2 separate regions of the Homo sapiens genome follow, and region 2 is linked to region 1. Evidence: promoter capture Hi-C in human tissues and cell types (Jung and others, 2019). All regions are on one chromosome and are shown on one strand. Each heading gives the region's core, a stretch centred on a gene start or on the middle of the fragment in contact. The rest is flanking DNA. Distances are from core to core; before and after follow the strand shown. Region 1 holds the start of IFT88 (intraflagellar transport 88). Region 2 overlaps LOC105370105 (a long non-coding RNA gene).

Evidence for each region. The method cuts DNA at HindIII sites, captures the fragments that hold promoters and counts their contacts. A contact is called where the count stands out against the background at its distance.
Region 2: a contact is called between a fragment that was not itself captured here and the fragment with the promoter of IFT88 in region 1, in 1 of the 25 tissues and cell types used here (dorsolateral prefrontal cortex).

The regions. Positions count from the first base shown.
Region 1 is chr13:20,562,696-20,569,154 of GRCh38, reverse strand. It overlaps IFT88 (intraflagellar transport 88), which reads right to left and starts at 1,998. Exons shown (of 26, transcript NM_006531.5): 1 at 1,899-1,998. It overlaps LOC105370103 (a long non-coding RNA gene), which reads left to right and starts at 2,126. Exons shown (of 6, transcript XR_941725.3): 1 at 2,126-2,479; 2 at 3,605-3,654. RefSeq lists silencers at 1,605-1,793, 1,889-2,298. The HindIII fragment of the contact is 1,600 bases long and covers 1,759-3,358 here.
Region 2 is chr13:21,281,655-21,287,966 of GRCh38, reverse strand. All of the region lies in intron 3 of LOC105370105 (a long non-coding RNA gene), which reads right to left. It overlaps LOC101928764 (coiled-coil domain-containing protein 144B), which reads left to right. Exons shown (of 6, transcript NR_172129.1): 5 at 141-332; 6 at 445-4,480. Among named protein-coding and RNA genes, the nearest start is that of LINC01046, 50 kb to the right of the region's middle. The HindIII fragment of the contact is 4,447 bases long and covers 1-4,037 here.

The DNA of each region.
Region 1 (6,459 bases), core at 749-3,248:
TCTTATATTTAGGTCATTGATCCATTTTGAGTTAATTTCTCATTACTTTTTGAAGATGAAAATTAACTACTATGAGGGCAAATGTCACCCACATAGAAATGGCATTCCAAAATAGCTTCAAAAGGTTATTAAAAGGGCCAGGCGTCGTGGCTCACGCTTGTAATCCCAACACTCTGGGAGGCCGAGGCGGGCGGATCACGAGGTCAGGAGATCGAGACCATCCTGGCTAACACGGTGAAACCCCGTCTCTACTAAAAATACAAAAAATTAGCTGGGCATGGTGGCGGGCGCCTGTAGTCCCAGCTACTCGGGAGGCTGAGGCAGGAGAATGGCATGAACCCGGGAGGCGGAGCTTGCAGTAAACCGAGATTGCCGCCACTGCACTCCAGCCTGGGCAACAGAGCGTGCGACTCCGTCTCAAAAAGAAAAAAAAAGGTATTAAAAGTCACTGGTAAAAGATATATAAAATATTTTTAATTAAAAGCTTTAGCTCAGATAATACTAAACCAGTGGTTCTTAAACCCAAGTGATGCTGAGGCTACTGGTCTGGGGACCACTTTGAGAACCACTATTCTGAACCATAATTTCTGATTATGAACCCTATTTAAGTCAGCTTAGTTGACACATAAGTTATAGAAGGAAGCAACTTTTAGAATGAGAAATCCTTTCTGCTAGGTTGTAACCAGATTTTTAAAAGGTTTGACTTGAGACTTTAGTTGAATAGACATCTTGTGGAACATACAAATATTAAAAGATGTGGAAAGTGAGGCCAGGAAAGTTGAAGGGAATCAAGCATGGCTAATAGCTATGGGTGGCAGAACAACTGTTGTTATACAACCCAGGGTTTCTGGATTCTCCAGGCAATTTCCAAAGCAGCTTATACATGTAACAAACTTTTCCATGTTGAAATAATCTGGGGATGATGCCACCTATGTTTAATATAAATCAAATGCTGGCAAAACCTTTTTTTTTTTTAAGTGAAAGGTATGTTTTTTAATACTCTTCTACTGACTATGGACAGTCTACTTCAAGCTTTTCCAACCCCGGCCCGCACGTGGCACAGGACGGCTTTGAATGTGGCCCAACACAAATTCGTAAACTTTCTGGAAGCATTATGAGATTCTTTTTTGCGATTTTTTTTAAAGCTCATCGGCTACCTTAGTGTTTGTGAATTTCATGTGTGGCCCAAGACAATTCTTCTTCCGATGTGGCCCAGGGAAGCCAAAGATTGGACACCCTTGGTCTACTTCCAAGAAGCCTACTGCAGTTTCTCGAAAAAAAAAAAACAAACAAAAAAAACTCACAACCAGAAAATCGGACTAGTAAAAGTGTAATTTTAGGCTTAGAAAGAATCTTGGGACAACAGTACTTCACGTTTTTGGAATGTTTCCATCTTTGTGAGGCTAAGTACCGCTTTCTGCATTGTTGTGTACTTTTATCTTCATTCCTGATTCAACTTTCATCAGGCAATTTGAAGTGCTTCACCTAACAAGAAAATTAAAGAGCGATGTGCACCATCTCTGCTGTGCGATTCCAGAGCTGGCGCAGTAATCTAACTGGGTTTTAAGTTTCCCCGTCAGGCGTGACTGGGACTTGGGACATCGCCAAGCGGTCAGCGACGCCCGTCCCAGTTCAGAGGAGCAAGAAAAGCCTGTGAGCTGGGGACACCGATGTGAGAAACAACGCCCGCGTTTCTGAGTAGACAACTCGGGAGCCTGAGGAAGAAAAGCAGGGGCAGGCCGAGTCCATCTGGGGCCCCGCCTCAGACCGCCCCGGGGCCGACAGGGGCGGGCAGGAGACGGGCGAAGAGGCCCTCGGCGGGATGCGCCACACAGGACGCCGCAGGGGCACGGCTGCCAGGGGCCCTGAGGCACTAGGCCCCAGCGCCCTTCTCCTACCTCACGCTGAGGGAAGCGGGCGACAGTTATTCGGGCCCAGGGACGACGCAGCGGTTGGCCAAAGCGCGACGCCGAGCCGTTGCCAAGCGCGGAATCCAAGGAAGCCGCTCCCACAGTCCTCCGCGCGGGGGCGGGCGGGGCCGGAAGCGCGGGGGCGGGAGAGAGCGCGGCGGGAAGGGGGTGGTGCGGGAGGCCTGGGGAAGTGGGTGGGGGCGGAGAACGGCGGGTCAGAGAGAAGGCAGCCCGGTCCCCCTCAGTGGAAGGGAGTGGCGGTGGGCGGAGGGTGTTGAGGGGACGGTGCCAGCGGCTTGCGGGAAGCCGGGCGATGCGGGTAGAACGGTGGAGGAGAGGGCAGGGAGGCCGGGGCCTCCCGTGGAACGGAACCGGGGGGTTGGGAGGCTGGGGGCGGCCTGTGTGAAGGGGGCGGGGAGGGAAAGGCTCGCGGCCAGTAGATGCAGGAGGGAGGAGGGCCTAGAGGGGCTCCGGGCTGGCGGCCTCTGTGAGGAAGGGGAAGGATATGGAACCAAGATCCTTTAAATCCTGATGAACTCATCCGTAAAGCAGATGCCCAAAGGATGATAGTAAGCTTACTGTGACATAACTCCCGGAGCCGCAGCACGAGCCTTGTGAACCTTGGAAGCCCGTTTTCCGCGCAGTCACTAACTCGCTTAGTCACCCTGTGTAAAAGTTATTCTGGGATGACACCTGCCTGGGAAGTCTCACCTTTCCCCCCACCTCCTCCTGTCTGCGTATTGTTCTGTAGCACCCCGTGCGCACCTTGATTGTAGCGCTTAAGGTGTCCGTTTTATTTACTAGACAGGGATTGAACCATTGTGTCCCAACCACCTAGAACCTGGGTCATAGTGTAAAGCTTAATCAATGTAATATAAATGGGGGAATTAAATTCATAATTGTTTAATGTTTAAGTTTTGTCTTAAATTTTAAAAGTAAATGTTGGGGATGGAGGGGAGGGACAGAGGGAGTCTAAAGACACCAGTAATTAATGAGTTTTTATAAAATAAGTAGTGTTGGCCGGGCGCAGTGGCTCATGCCTATAATCCCAGCACTTTGGGAGGCTGAGGCTGGCGGATCACCTGAGGTGAGGAGTTGGAGACCAGCCTGGCCAACGTGGTGAAACCCTGTCTCTACTAAAAATACAAAAATTAGCCCGGCGAGGTGGCAGGCGCCTGTAATAAATCCCAGCTACTCAGGAGGCTAAGGCAGGAGAATCTCTTGAACCCAGGAGGTAGAGGTTGCAGTGAGCCAAGATGGTGGTATTGCACTCCAGCCTGGGTGACAAGAGCGAAACTCCATCCAAAAAAAGAAAAAACATAGTGTTGGGGGACAATTCTCCATGGGTCACCTGCACTTTCCCGTGTTTTGTGAGCAGAGACACTGACTGCCTTTGTTCTGGAGTACTATGATAGCTGGTATTTTTTAAGATGTGATTAACAGTTAAATTAGACTTGAGTAAAGCAGTTGGTCCTCCACAAGGTGGGTTGGCCTCATCCCGTCAAGGGAAGGTCATAAGAGAAAAGACTAAGGTCCTCTGAGGAAGAAGGAATCCTGCCCCCAGACTGCCTTCAGCTCTTTCCTGGGTCTCTAACTTGACCTACAAATTTTAGGCTTGCCAGCATTATAAATAAAGTTTTGGTGCCGCAAAAGAAATAGCACTCAACTATAAAATTTTCTTTTTTCCTTCTCAGCAAGGCAATTTACTTCTATAGAAGGGTGCGCCCTCACAGATGGAGCAATGGTGAGCACACACCTGGACAAGGGAGGCGAAGGGGTTTTTATTCCTGACGCTTGTGGCACCTGCTGCTGTGTCCTTCCCCTGTTGGCTAAGGTTAGACGGCACAGGCTAAACTAATTCTGATTGACTAATTTAAAGAGAGTGACCGGGTAAGTGGTTTGGTGGGAAAAATAGTTATGGCAGAGCAGGAAATCGGAATGAGTCAGGGTGGAGAATGAGTCAGGGCAGAGCAGGTAATCAGAATGAGTCAGGGTGGAGCAGGTAGTTGAAAAAGATTGCTTTACGAGGAAGTTAAGCTTTTTTTGTTTTGTTTTGTTTTTTTTAATTGAGACAGAGTCTCGCTCTATAGCCTAGACTGGAGTGCAGTGGCGGCATCTCGGCTCACTGCAAGCTCTGCCTCCTGGGTTTGCTCCATTCTCCTGCCTAAGCCTCCCGAGTAGCTGGGACTACAGGTGCCCGCCACCACACCCGGCTTATTTTTTGTATTTTTAGTAGAGATGGATTTCACCGTGTTAGGATGGCCTCCATCTCCTGACTTCATGATCTTCCCGCCTCGGCCTCCTGGGATTACAGGTGTGAGCCACCGCATCTGGCCAGAAGTTAAGTTTAAAAGTAGAAGACAAAGAATTGAACATACTGACATTGATTCTTCGAAGAGAAATTTAGAACTCATATCTAACACCAGCCTCCAATTGATTGAGCCAATTCCTTCAAATAAATCTCTCTCTGCAATATGCATCCTATTGGATCTGTTTCTGTAGGGAATTCTGATTAATATACCCTTTCAAGGAACAGCTTTGGAAGATTAAGATAATTGTCTGCTTCTGGAACAAAAGACAGGTTTGTTGCTGTTCAGTTTAATAAAGAGAGTGTCACCTTCTGGGGCAAAGGCTGAGCATGTTGGCTTGCAGTTCACTGTTCAAGACTGGGCTTTCCTAAACTTGGTGTACCTGGGCGGTAAAACCAATCACATGTGCAGCATCCACCTGGACTGTCCCCATGGGACTTGGAAGGGAAAGGGGAACCGAAGGGAATATGAAGCCCAGGCTACTGGCTGTGCTGTGAAAAATAAAGCCCTTTCTCTCTGACTCAGGTGTTTTCTGCCATCATTTGTGGAGCTGTTAGATGAGCTTGTTAGCTTGCAAGTAGGGTAAAATCTAACATGATTCTGAATAGTATCTAGCCATACTATACCCAGCTCATAGCAGTTGTTCCAAGAAATATTTGTTGAATTAATTAGTGAATACCGGGGAGCCTTATTTCAAGTTACTGTCCCTCTATAGACACAATTTCCATTATCTCTGGATCTCCAAACTGTAAATTTTCAGTCTCCTCAAAAAAATCTTTTTAATTAGAAACAAATTCAAGTTACTTCAACTTGGTTACTTTTTTTTTTTTTTTTTTGAGACAGAGTCTCACTCTGTAACCCAGGCTGGAGTGCACTGGCACCATCTCAGCTCACTGCAACCTCTGCCTCCCGGGTACAAATGATTCTCCTGCCTCAGCCTCCTGAGTAGCTGGGACTACAGGCATAAGCCAGCACACCCAGCTATTGTTTGTATTTTTAGTAGAAATGGGGTTTCACCATGTTGGCCAGGCTGGTCTCGAACTCCTGACCTCTTGTGATCTGCCCGCCTCTGCCTCCCAAAGTGCTGAGGTTACAGGCGTGAGCCACCGCACCCGGCCTCAACTTGGTTGCTCTTTGGGTGTGATACAGTTACTTGCCCAGGGAGTGCTCATTCACCTTCATTTTAAACATCATTATGTAGCTAGCATTTAATGAACACACCTATTATTGCCAGGCAAAATGTTAGGGTCACCTAGCTTATATTACTGAAATTCAAGCTCCACAGAGAATGGGCGTTTTTGTCTTTTTTGTTCTAGACTGTATCTCCAGTACTTAGAAAAGTGCCTGGAACTAGTTGACTCTCAATAATTGTTAATCGAATGAATTGTCAGGACTTGTAATTAATTATATAGAGAGTTGGGGGTGAATGGGTAGTAAGCAGCAAGCATGAATCCCAAGTTTGGCATGAGTAATGGGATGAATGCTAGCACCATGTATTACCATGGAGAATACTGGAGGAGATGCAAGTTTGAGAGAGAAAATGAGTTTAGTTTTGAATATGTTGAGTTTCAGATGCCTGTAAAATATGCAAATAGAGATGTTGACTAGGCAGCTGCTGAGTATATACAATTGTATTAATAAAGCTCAGAGAAAAGATCCTCAGGCCTGGTATGGTGGCTCACATCTGTACCTGCACTTCGGTGCCAAGGTGGGAGGATTGCTTGAGGCCAGGAGTCCAAGACCAGCCTGGGCAGCATAGCAAGACCCTGTCTCTACATATAAATAAAAATGAGCCAGGTGTGATGGTCCACACCTGTAGTCTTAGCTACTCAGGAGGCTGAGGCAGGAGGATCCCTTGAGCCCAGGAGTTTGGAAGCTGTGTTGAGCCATGATCATGCCACTGCACTCCAGCCTGGACAACAGAGTGAGACTCTATCTCTTAAAAAGAAAAAGAGGCCAGGTGCGGTGGCTGACACCTGTAATCCCAGCACTTTGGGAGGCCGAGGTGGGCGGATCATGAGGTCAGGAGTTTGAGACCAGCTTGGCCCACAAGGTAAAACCCCATGCCTACTAAAAATACAAAAATTAGCCAGGCATGGTGGCACATGCCTGTAGTCCCAGCTACTCAGAAGGTTGAGGCAGAAGAATCACTGGAACCTGGGAAGTTGCAGTGAGCCAAGATCGCGCCACTGCACTCTAGCCTGGGCAACAGAGCGAGACTCTGTCTAAAAAAAAAAAAA
Region 2 (6,312 bases), core at 565-3,064, 720 kb before region 1:
CACCTCCAGCCTGGAATCGTTTTCATCATTACATTCTGATGTTTGTTGCTAGTGTCTAGAAATACAACAGATTACCATGTGTTGACATTTTGTGCTGTAACTTTGCTGAATTTATTCACTAGTTTTAATAATTGAATAAGGAGGAGCAGCGAGGACGGCGTGGGCTGTGGAGCCGAGCACAATGACAGCGCCTTCCTGGAGCCTGGGTACGACGTCTGCCTGGAAGATCTTGGCGATCTCCACAGAGCTGCCTGGAGGGGCATAGTCCCCAGAGTGGAGCTCATTCTCATGCTCAGGGACCCTGGCTTGGACAAGAGAGACAAGAAGAAGAGGTAATGGGCCGGGCGGGGGCTGGGAGGGTGGGGAACTGGGAGAAGCCCTTTCCCTGGGGGATGGGGTGGGTTGCGCCCTCCTGTCACCGGCCCAGCTTTCTCGCCCCCGCAGGTCCCGCAGCACCTGGGATGTGGAATCCCTGGAGGAGTCACAGGGCCCAGGCCGCTTCATGAGCCCCCAAAACGAAAACCACACGCAGCCGTGATTTCCCTATTTCTCCTGATTTCCCTCTTTCTCCTGATTCCAACTGCATCTTTATATCTAAAAATTTTTGGCTTACCACACGGGGAGCTAAAAAAGCAACTCTTACCTGATATGTACTCAGAGGTGCTCTGGGTTTTAAACTGTCCATCACACAAGCCAAACCAGGCTCCACAAAACAGGAACAAGGAACCTAAGTAGTTCCATTGTTTTGTGCTCAAAAACATGGGGTGCTGTATCCCGAGTTCTGAAGCAACTGAAATCTATGTTGTCACTTGCAATACTAGTGAGAGGATGACTGGAGTAAGCTATTTTGTTCTGCAGCAGAAGACTCTTGTGATCAAACTGATACCTTAGGTAAACTGTTGGAGTTATTTTCAAACCTTCATAAAAGCATGGCCAGTTAAGGTTGTGTCCAGATTCAAATAGAGTTTGTACCAGGTCAAAAAGAGTCTCGTACTCTTTATTTGGTTGTAGAGAAGAGAAAATTAAGTTTCTTTACCTATGACTTCTCTCATGTTTCTCTGGAGGGCTCTCTTAGAGACTATTTCAACAAATATGACATTTTCCCTTCCTTTGGCTGCGGTTGTGAGAGCCTGGATGAAACCAACTGGCTCTGGAATGTTCCTGTATCAATATTTGCCAGTAGTCAAATCTTCACAAGCTGTTTTTCCTGTTGTTATTGAAATCAGCTCCATTTCTGGCTCCATCCTCCCCAAATTCCCAATGCTCTCTTTAATGTCTTTGCACACTGGATCCATCATATAATTGTGATTAGCAGCTGGAACTGACAGAATATATGAAAATATCCTGCTTTTCTCAAACTGCTGAGCCACCTTTCATGACACTTGGCTGTAGCTTCTGCCTCTCCTGACAGGATATAGGAGCAAGGACTGTTAAAGGCTGCCATGCACATTCTTCTGGAGAAGGACACTACAGCCTTCGAGATTTCTGTTCTCGGAATCTATAAAGGCTCTAAAAAATGAAGTATATATCTTTTAAAAATAAAAAATAAATAAATCATAACTGCATACAATTAGATCTAGTACATACTGCACTATTGTAATGATCTCATAGCCACCTCCTGTTGCTATTGCAGTGAACTCAAGTGTTGCAGGTATCCACTTAAAACGCCAAATGATGCTCATCATCTCCACAGATGCAGTTCGTCTTGCCAGCAAATCATGTTTCATAGTGAAAGTGACCTCTTGTGGTACTCATGTAGTTTTCTTTTTAAAATTATTTGTATGAGGCATAGTAGGTATATATTTATAAAATACATGAGATATTTTGACAGAGGCATACAATCAATGCATAATAATTATATCAGGGTAAATGGGTATTCATCACCTCAAACATTTATCATTTCTTTGAGTTACAAACATTCCGATTACACTGTTTTATTTTTAAATGTACAATAAAATATTGTTGACTGTAGTCACACTGTTCTGCTATCAAGTAGTAGATCTTATTCATTTTATCTAACGATATATTTTTTACCCATTAACCATCCTCACTTATCCCCAACCCCCATTACCCTTCCCAACCTCTGGTAACCTTCATTCAATTCTCTATGTTCATGAGTTTCATTGTTTTAATTTTTAGCTCCCACAAATGAATGAGAAGTCTTTCTGTGCCTGGCTTATTTCCCTTGACATAATGACCTCTAGTTCCTTCAATGTTGTTGCAAATGACAGTATCTCATTCTTTTCTATGGTTGAATAGTGCTCCATTGTGGGGGTGTGTGTGTGTATATATATGTGTGTGTGTATATCTCACATCTTCTTTATCTGTTTGCCTGTTGATGGTCACATAGCTTGCTTCCAAATATTGGTTATTGTGAATAGTGCCGCAGTAAACTTGGAAGTACCAATCTCTCTTGGACATACTGATTTCCATTCCTTTGGATAAATACCCAAATGCTCTCTTTAACATCTTTCCACACTAGATCCATCATATAATTGTGCATAATAGCAGCTGGAACTGACAGGATATAGAGAAATATGCTGCTTTTCTCAAACTGCTCAGCCACCTCTTCATGATACTTGGCTATAGCATCTGCCTCTCCTGATGGGGTACAGGAGCAAAGACTGTTAAAGGGGGATTGCTGGATCATACGGCAGTTCTTTTTTAGTTTTCTGAGGAAGCTCCATGCTGTTCTCCATAGTGGTTGTACTTATTTACATTCCCAACAACAGTGTATGAGGGTTCCCTTTTCTCTATATCCTTGCCAGCATTTGTTGTTGCTTGTCTTTTGTATCAAAGCGCTTTCTAGTGGGGTGAGATGTTATCTCATTGTAGTTTTGATTTGCATTTCCTTCATGATCAATGATGTTGAGCACCTTTCTATATACCTATTTGCCATTTGTGTGCCACTGTGTGCCTGTTTGCCATTTCTTCTTTTGAGAAATGTCTATTGAGATATTTTGCCCATTTTAAAATCAGATTATTAGATTTTTTTTCCTATTGAGTGGTTTGATCTCCTTATATATTCTGGTTATTAATCTCTTGTCAGATGGATAGTTTGCAAATATTTTCTCCCATTCTGTGGGTTATCTCCTCACTTTGTTGATTGTCTCCTTTGCTGTGTAGAAGCTTTGGAGTTTGACATGATTCTATTTGTCTATTTTTGCTCTGGTTTGTGCTTCAGGGGTATTACTCAATAAATCTTTGCCCAGACCAATGTTCTGAAGTTTCCCAAATGTTCTCTTTCAGTAGATTCATAGTTTGACATCTTAGATTTAGGTCTTTAATGCATTTGATTTTTTGTGTGTGATGAGAGACAGGGGTCTAGTTTCATTCTTCTAAATATGGATATCCAATTTTCACAGCACCATTAATTGAAGACACTGTCTTTTCACCAATGCATGTTCTTGGTATTTTTGTTGAAGTGAGTTCCCTGTAGAGGTATGCATTTATTTCTGTCCTCTCTATTCTGTTGCACTGGTCCATGTGTCTTTTTTTTATGCCAGTTACCATGCTGCTTTGGTTACCATAGCTCTGTAGTATAATTTTAAGTCAGGTTATGTAATTCCTTCAGTTTTATTCTGCTCAGAATGGCTTTGGCTATTCTGGGTGTTTTCTGATTCCATCAGAAAGTTTTAGGATTATTGTTTCTATTTCTGTGAAGAATATCACTGGTATGTTGATAGGGACTTCATTGATTCTGTAGATTGCTTTGCATAGGATGGACATTTTAACGATATGGATTCTTCCAATCCATGAAAATGGAATATTTTTTTCAATTTTGTCTCCTCTTCCATTTCTTGAATCAATGTTTTATAGTTCTTACTGTAGAGGTCTTTCACTTCTTAGGTGAAGTGTATTCCTACATATCTTATTTTGTTTGAGCTATTGTAAATGGCATTAGTTTCTGATTTCTTTTTCAGATTGTTCAATGTTGGTATATACAAGGGCTACTGATTTTGTATGTTTATTTTTTATCCTGCAACTTTACTGAATTTGTTTATCAGTTCTTAGGGAGAGTCTTTAGGTTTCCCAAATATAAGATTATATCATCTTCAAACAAGGGTAATTTTACTTTTTCCTTTCCAAATAGATCCCCTTTGTTTCTTTCTCTTGTCTCAATGCTCTAGCTAGGACTTCTTGTTTTTTTCATCATGTTTAATTTAATAGTGTAAATCATAGAACCCAAAGAAAGTACCACTAGTGATGCATAAAGTGCTTCCAAGAAGCAGAGAAATAACATAACAATATAAGAAAAAGCTGATTTGCTTGATATGTACCACGGTTTGAGGTCTGTAGCTTTGTCTGCATTTTTAGAAAGATGATTCATCTCAGAAACACATGAAGTAAACTTATGGTATTGATAAATTCAGTACAGTACTGTAAATATACTTTATCTTCCTTATAATTTTCTTAACATTTCCTTTTCTCTAGCTTACTTTTGTACAAATATGGTATATAATACATAAAACATACAAAATATGTGTTCATTGACTGTTTATGTTATGGGTAAGGCTTCTCATCCATAGTAAGCTATTAGTAGTTAAGTTTTGGGCAGTCAAAAGTTATATGTGAATTTCTATGATGTCCCTACTCCCCAGATTGTCCAAGGGTCAACTGTACTTAAAAAAAATTAGAATGAACCATGTGGGATTGAATTGAAATAGAAAGTATCAGCAAAAACTCATGGTTTTGAATATATTTTGACACTGAAATGTGGATTAATGTAAGCATGTATGCCTGCGTATTTATGTATATCCATATATTTCTCTGCTTTGTTCATGGAGTAGGTCTCTGAGCAATGACAATCCCAATGCAAATATCCACACCTACCTCAACTAGTGGCCAGAATTTGGTTTCTAAATACCATTCTCCCCCAGAAGAAATCTAGTCTTCTAGGAAAATAGCTGATTTCAGATCTGGGGCCGAGAAATAGATGATAAGCTTGGAACATTGTGTGCCATAAAATAAAGAAATATTTAAACGATGGCAATGAATTGATGTCCAAAAGACATGAAATCAGCTTGAAATGGTGACCACTGGCTGAGTCTGGGAGTATTTGAGCACCAAAAGAATATTTTCCCTTCTCCCCTGTTTATTGCTTTTGTTTTGTTTCATTTTTTAATCCATGTAGAAGGCATGACAGAATAAGAAAATCATCATGTGGCCACCATCATCATAATTAATTCAAGTAAGAATCATAAAGCAGCCAGGCCCAGTGGCTCATGCCTATAATTCTGGCACTTTGGGAGACTGAAGGGAGCTGATCCCTTGAGCCCAGGAGTTAGAGATACAAGCCTGGGCTACATGGCAAAACCCCATCTCTACAAAAAATACAAAAATTAGCCAGGCATGATGGTGCATGCCTATAGTCCTAGCTACTTGGGAGGCTGAGGTGGGAGGATTGCTTGAGCCTGGAAGATTGAGGCTGCAGTGAGACAAGATTGTGCAAGTGCACTCCAGCCAAGGCAATAGAGCAAGACCATGATCTCCAAAAATACATACATAAATAAATAAATAAAATAAAAGGAAAAAATCAATGCAATGCTAAATCTAGTGGGTGAAATTTTGAGGAGTAACTGGAGATTTATACAGCCACAAAGTATTGCCACACAGGATATTGGTGAAATACAAAAGGTAAACAGTAACTTTACTATGGACAAATCTGACTGACGAAACTCCTTAACCAAAGAATCAAAGTCAACACTGGCCAGCAATGAAACCAAGTGACAGCCTACAGACATGCTGCATTCGGAAGAAGTCAGCATTACCTGTGTGACATTCCTGCCTCAGTGACATAATCTGAATCTAATCATGAGGAAACATCATATGAACCCAAACTGAGAGAAAAATCAGTAAAATAAGTGACCCATACTCTTCAAAAACATGGATGTTATGAAAATCAAAGAAAGAGTACAAAACTGTCCCAGATTAAAGGAGAATAAAGAAAGAGGACAATTGGACTCAACACATCATGAATTGTAAAAATCTCCCATCTTGGATTTTCTTTGGCTATAAAGGATATTATGGGGAAAATTGGCAAAATCTTAATAAGATCTGTCGATTATATATTAACATTGAATCAATTTCAATTTCTTGCTTTTGATAATGATCACCATAGTTATGTAAGAAAATTCCTTCTTTTTAGGAAATATATAGTAAAGTATTTAGAAATAAAGAGGCATCATGTCTGTGACTCACAAATAATTCAGGAAGAAAAATCTATATTATGTACCTATATTTATATTTGTCTAGAAAGAGAAGAGGAAAAGAAGGAGAAAGAGTAAAGCAAATGCAGTAAAATATTAAAAT